2 separate regions of the Homo sapiens genome follow, and region 1 is linked to region 2. The links are contacts of gene promoters, found by promoter capture Hi-C in blood cells and fetal thymus (Javierre and others, 2016). All regions are on one chromosome and are shown on one strand. Each heading gives the region's core, a stretch centred on a gene start or on the middle of the fragment in contact. The rest is flanking DNA. Distances are from core to core; before and after follow the strand shown. Region 1 overlaps RHBDD1 (rhomboid domain containing 1). Region 2 holds the start of AGFG1 (ArfGAP with FG repeats 1).

The links. The method cuts DNA at HindIII sites, captures the fragments that hold promoters and counts their contacts. A CHiCAGO score of 5 or more calls a contact.
Region 1: a contact is called between a fragment that was not itself captured here and the fragment with the promoter of AGFG1 in region 2, in 1 of 17 cell types (total B cells). The highest score is 5.1, in total B cells.

The regions. Positions count from the first base shown.
Region 1 is chr2:226,904,511-226,907,606 of GRCh38, reverse strand. It overlaps RHBDD1 (rhomboid domain containing 1), which reads right to left. Exons shown (of 9, transcript NM_001167608.3): 6 at 726-814. Among named protein-coding and RNA genes, the nearest start is that of RHBDD1, 70 kb to the right of the region's middle. RefSeq lists a silencer at 2,611-2,760. The HindIII fragment of the contact is 2,206 bases long and covers 227-2,432 here.
Region 2 is chr2:227,470,509-227,473,821 of GRCh38, reverse strand. It overlaps AGFG1 (ArfGAP with FG repeats 1), which reads right to left and starts at 1,666. Exons shown (of 13, transcript NM_004504.5): 1 at 1,234-1,666. The coding sequence starts at 1,400. MIR5703 (microRNA 5703) reads right to left here and starts at 1,690; the gene lies at 1,635-1,690. It overlaps LOC124907994 (a long non-coding RNA gene), which reads left to right and starts at 1,723. Exons shown (of 2, transcript XR_007088114.1): 1 at 1,723-2,662; 2 at 2,833-3,034. RefSeq lists a silencer at 958-1,677 and an enhancer at 1,790-2,753. The HindIII fragment of the contact is 6,204 bases long and covers 270-3,313 here.

The DNA of each region.
Region 1 (3,096 bases), core at 80-2,579, 570 kb after region 2:
CAAGAAAAGGTAAAATAGTCTCAGAAGACTTCCCATGAATAAAAGATGAAATAGTGGAACTCAGTCTATAAAACAAGTGTTTGCAAACCAGTTTTCTTACAAGTCAAAATGAGAATCGCATTGAAAATTAAGAGGTCTAAAAAATACAAGTATTTCTAAATGAAATATTTTCATTGAGTATCAATTTGAAGGGAAAAACAAAATTAAAAAAAGCAGGAGCTAAGCTTCAAGCAATAACAGACTTGGTTTCGCCATGCATGAATATATGGCTCATCCACCAAGGACCCGGTCATCAGTCTGAATTCTTTAAAATACTGGCCATGCACTTCAGTCCAGGCTTTGTTTTCTTTTTCACCTTTGCCTTGCACGTATATTAATTCATGGACTATTATAGAAGAATGCATTATTTTAAAGGCACTTTAGTTCTCTGCATTCTTTAGGAAATCGTGGTTTTCTGCGGGTAGCATTAAGGTTGAGGGTATAAATATATACTGATATTTGTCCCCTAAGAAAGTATCAGATTCGAAATTTAAGTTTGCAGCCTCTTTTGTGGAGCAATGTAAGGAACTGCACTGGTTGTTTTACCTTTCGGTTTAAAAAGAAAAACAGGCATATTAGGGAATTCTTGAGCTGAACCACAGGGAAACTTGGGGTTGCTTCTGTTCACATTAAAATTAACATGAACTTCCAAGCTGTTGTCATGCCAAAGGTGTTTTATTCTGTACCTGCACATGCTTCCATGATTTTCTTCAGAGGCCCTTGAGTGTACATTAGTCCAACAAGAATCCCAGCCAGATGCCCAGCGAAGGAAGTCCTAGGAGGGAAGGAGACCCTTTGTGAGTGTTTGTTCTGCTGCTGATTAGAGACATTCTGTCTTCTCATTAGCCCAGTGCATGTCAAATAGTCACAGTCTGCAGGCTTTGTTCCACATCAAGTCTTTTATGCTAAGCAGCATTTAACTCAGTCCAAAGAACAACATCTCCTACCTTAAAAAAAAGTACAATGAATAACAACCACCACATGTTTAAAACGCAACACCCCTCCTTAACCAGGGGAAGTGGGTTGTCTCCTCCAGAGCAGTGGAAGCATTTGGTCAAGACAAGTCATTACATCGCTTTCCGTTTTTTTTCTGTACCTCTTATCACAAAACATAAATAAAATCAGTTTTCTCTGTTTGGCATTAAATCTGGAATTATCCAGCCATTGTGAGGGATGATGTCTATCTGTGTTATGGCAGGGCAGACTGCTGCAGTTTTCTACACCATGGATGAGTGAAGCAGAGAGCAAGTGAAACTCAGCAAAAGGAACTGAGATGCCCACCTGCATCCACCAAAGTTGTCTTCATGTGTATGTTTCAGTCACTCAGAACAAAGAAACATACATTTAAATTTCAAACTTGAAAGATGAGTTAGGGCATGAAAGTGTTTGCGTTAGGGCATGACAGTGGTTTAACTCTTCTTAAACTGGCATCTAAAACCAGCAATTACTTGTAAGATTTATTTTCAGAGGTCTACTTTGACCCAAGTGGCAACACTCTTTGTGGAGTTCCCTGGCTGAATGACCTCCCAACCAGCCTGAGTTTAAGAAATTACTGGCGATTCTCAAAAACCTCTGCTGTTACCACAAAGGGGGGGGTCCTACACAACGAGTTGTTCTTTAAGCACTTGACCTCAATTTCCAGCTGCCCGCCACCCTCTAGACACCCCCGCGCACACATGCACACATCCACTAGCACCTTAAACTAGACTTTTCTGGGGTGCCACTCCCACTTCCCGTTTGTAATGCCTCTCATACCCCTCCCAGCCTTCCCATTCCTACTGCCACAACCATGCTTACTGCCATCTGGACTATTTGGAAATGCCCAGTGTTGGGCACAGAGTGAACCCCAGATGAATGTGTGTTGAATGAATAAAATAAATGAAAGAAAATCATCCAGCTGGTCTCCCTGCAAGCCAGCTCTTGCTCTCCAGTGCATCCCACACACGGCCATCAGTTATCCTCCTGAGGCAGAAGGCAAGTGGTGTCATTGCCATCCTCTGAAATCCACTGGTTCTCACAGAATACTCCGGTGTGTGTTTAAGCCCTTCCAACACTTGGCCTTGCCCATCTCTGCAAAGTCAGAGGGTGGAGACCTCATCGTCTACTACCTCCATTCCCACATGCCCCACTGTCACATCCCCCAAGCACTCTCTGACCATAGGCTAAGCCAAACAGCACCTCTGTCAAAAAATGCCACCCCAGTTGAAGAGCCGTTCTTTCCTTCTCCTGCCTCCCCTCAGAGCTGAGGCTCCTACCTTATTCTGGCACGAAGCCAGTCTGCTGGTGGCACAGTACTTACACGTCTGCCTGCCTGTCCGTCTCTCTCTGTCACACACAAACTCCCTGAGGGCAGCAATGGTGTCTCATTCATACATTATACAAAATTAGAAGCTTAAAAAAAAAAAAAAGCCAAGCAAATGAACGCATTCCCACAGCCTGGAATAGTGACCTCTCATTCCAGAAGGTGGGAAACTGAAAGTTATGAAAGAGCCTGATGGAGACTCCAAGAACATAGCCTTTATGTGGCTTTTACATATGTATTCCAAACACCCAGGACAGGGCCAGGCACATGAGAGGCACTCAAGGATATGTTGAGTAAATGGCTCAAGTGTGCCAGGACCGTTTCACCAAGACCAACAGGAGGTAAGTTAAAACCACTAGATGTTCAGCTCAGGGTGCTTGCTGAGCCACGGCAATCACAGAGCTAAGAATCCGCCATTTGGTAACCTACACGAGACTCAGAGTCAAAACCAATACATTTCGCCTACTATGGCAGCAGCCTAGGGGAGATTCCCTGAAACACCACAAGCAAGATGGTTCTGAGTAATTTTCTTTGTCTCCAAGCTATGAAAAGACTCGCTGGCTCTCAGGAAAAGAACATGCAATGAGGAACACTTGAAAGAAAGAGACAAACAGGAGCCTTGTAAAGAGAACAGCATTGATGCTTGTTCCCATTAGCTGACTAAATGACACTATTGCCCAGACAAGCCCTCACATACATGCACACGTGCTAAAAGTCATGGCACATGCATGCGCGTGCACACACACACAGACACG
Region 2 (3,313 bases), core at 417-2,916:
CTCTTTGCCCAACTTTAAAAAGCAAATAGTACATACTAGACATGTTCTGCATTTTCTAAGTTTTAAGAAATCAATTTTCCCACATAAAGTATTATGTGCTTTGTATTAATCTTACAAGCAAAGGTTTTAAAAATACTTAGTAACTGCCACGTTGTTAGTAACTTTAAATACAAGATAATAATATAAAAGCATTTTATCAATTCCAAAACCACCTGCAAATTTTCCGAATGAAATTGCACGGCAATAAAAATCTTTATCAAAATAAAGCTTAATGAAGCAAAGAACAACAAACACAAATCATCCCAGTAACTCAGGACGGTAGTGTCTTTCTGAAATCATGGTGACTTGCTAGCTCTCCTCATTTCTGTGTACAGCCAGGGCACTCGGGTATTGATAGCGAGATACAGATAAATCTCACAGATAACTCCATCATATTTAGAATCACACAGCTCCTAGTGGGTACCTTATTGCCATTAAAACTTTCCCCCAACTCCTCAACACTCTCTTCGGACCATAAAACTAAAATCCCACAGCTTCAAATCTGCTCCTCTGCCTCCCCCTCCCGCAATTAATCCTTTCGAACTTTTCCCAGGGGATTCACATCTGCCATCAAGATGCTTTCATCCTGCTACTATTCCTAAGTGCCTGCTTCCTCCCAGTTACGTAGGTACTCTCGACCCAGAAAAAAGGCACGGGCGAGGCAGGCGTCCCTCCCTCCCACCCCAGCTTCTCCCCGACCCCCAGCAGGAGCGCCCAGCAGGTGCCTCGCTCCGCACCGCGGCTCCCGGGCCGCTGAGAGGCGGGGCACACAAAGGACCCGCATGGACCTCCCCCCCGGCCTCCTAGCGTCTTCCCCCACCCCCCACAGCCCGGCGCCCCGGGTAGCTGGAGAGCGAGGGCGGCGGCCGCAGGCTCGACGGAGACCAGGGACGCTCGCCCCGGTCGCCCCCTCCCTGACCCCAACCCCGCCCACGTCCCACCCACGAAGGCTGCCCAGAACGTAAACCCTCGCCCGGCAAAACCGAAAACGCATCCCCAGCCCGGCTGCCCGGGCCCTGCGCATCCAGCCCGCAGCCTCCCACGCCGCGCCCGCCAGCCGGCGCCCAACGGCCGCCCCCGACCGCCTCCCACGGCACCCGGCTCTTTCCCAGCCCCGGAAGGGTCCCGGTCCCGCCGCCCGCTCCCCCACCTCCCGGGAAGGGCCCGACACCCGCCCGGCCGCCCCGCACTCACAGGCTGCCGGAGCAGGAGGTACACACGAAGGAGCCGACCGTCATGTTAACGTAGGTGGGGCCGCGCTGGTCGCAGTCGAAGCACTTTCGGTTGTGCGGGAGGCCGGTCATGTCCCGCAGCATCTTCAGGTGCTTCTCCTCCTGCTTCCGCTTCGCGCTGGCCGCCATGGCCGCGGCGCCAAGGGAGGAGGCCGGCAGGGCCGGGAGCCGGGCAGCGCTGCGCCGGGGGCCCGCGGTCCCACGGGCCGCCCTGGCCGCGGCCGCCGCCCTCCGTCTGCGCGCGCCGCCCGCGCCGGACCCGGCCGCAGCGGCTTGGCTGTACTGGGCTCGACGCGGCCCGGGCGCTGTGGTACGCGGGCTGACGGGCCACACCAACCGGCACAGCCGGGACAACCGCCGCCGCCGCCGCCACCTTCCCGACTTCTCCTGAGGGGAAAAGACGAGGAAGGGGACGGCAAGAGGAGGCCCGCCCTGGGCGGCCGGTAGCCAAGTGTCCGCTGGCGCCCTCTGCTGGCCAGGAGGAGTCACTGCGGCCTCGCTGAGGCATGGGCCGGGTCTGGAGCCAAGTAGGGTAGACACAATGGTGATAATAATATTAATAATAGACAGTATTTATTGAGCGCTTATATATGCAAAGCGTTTCACATGGGTTACCTTCCCCTTCTGTTTAAAACTCTTCAAGGGCTTTCCACTGCTTTGAGTATAATTCCAAATTCCTCACCGTGCCGTAAAAAGTGCTCCATAGTCTAGCCCAGTCTACCTCATTCTTCGTCGTCCTCACTCAGCCACACTGGATTTTGAGTTTTCTGAACACAGCAAGCTCCTTTCTGACTCCTGCAGGACCTTTGCCCTTGCTCTTCTCTCTTTATCTTTGGGCCAGCTAATTTGGGGGGGCTTGGGGTGTCCTGTGCACTGTAGGATACTGGGCGGCGTTCCTAGCCTATACCCACTAGATACAAGAACAAACCCCCCAATTCCCATTGCTGGCAACCAAAAATCCCCAGACATTGCCAAAAGTGGAGGGAACTTTAGGGCGGTGCAGTCACCTGGCTTGAGAACTGCTGCGTGTGGAAACCCGGATCATCCATAGCTGACATCCTCTAAGTCAGGTGGGGCTCAGATGTCACCTCCCCCGCCAGACTGTCCCAGATCAGCCGAGTTAATGTTGCAGCTCACCTTTCTCGAAGTTGCTCTCCATCAAATTGCTGCGTTGTATTTTCGTCTCAGTTCTAGCTATTTGAAATACTGCATCTTATTTCGTGTTTACCATGGGTGATCTGGACTCTCCCTTTAGGCGCTAAACAGCCTGGCCCCCGTATTTTCTGTGCCACTCCACCCCATTCCCCTCGCAGAGCTGGAGACTAGGTGTTCAATGTTGACGGAATGAATACATGAAATCGTTCATGTAATCTTCACAACAACCCTTCGAGGTGAGCGTTATTGTTATTTACATTTTACAAAACAGGAAGATGAAACCCTGAGGGATTAAGTAAATTTACCCAAGGGTACCTATGGCGAAGCTCAATTCCAACCCAGACAGCCAGACTGCAGGACCCAAATCCCCACTGCAACAATCAACTTCGTCTCTCGTTTTCCAAAGGAGTACAGGGAGACCCAGAGAGCTGAAGTTCTCAAATCACTGGGCTGTTGAATGGATTAGAATCTACGTTTCCTAACAGCCAAGACCAACCTCCACATCTCTCATGAAAGGGATTGGGTGAATCAACAAAGTGAGACTTCATATTAATATAATACTACTAATAATAATTAATGTTTTTAATATTAAAAGAAATGGACAGATAGATTGGCCAATGAATGTTTTTAAACTTTTCTATTATGGAAAATATCAAACTACCATGAGCCCATGGACCACTTTCAGCAATGATTAAGCCCATGGCTAATCTTGCTTTATAAATACCTCAACCCTCCATCCCCTCTCCTATTATTTTAAAGCAAATTCTAGGTTTCGTACCATTCATCTAAATGGTACATAGTTCCATTTGTATCCCTAAAAAATAAAAACTTTATCTCTTTCAAACTTAGCCATGATACCGTTAGCATATCTAAAAAGTTAACAATAG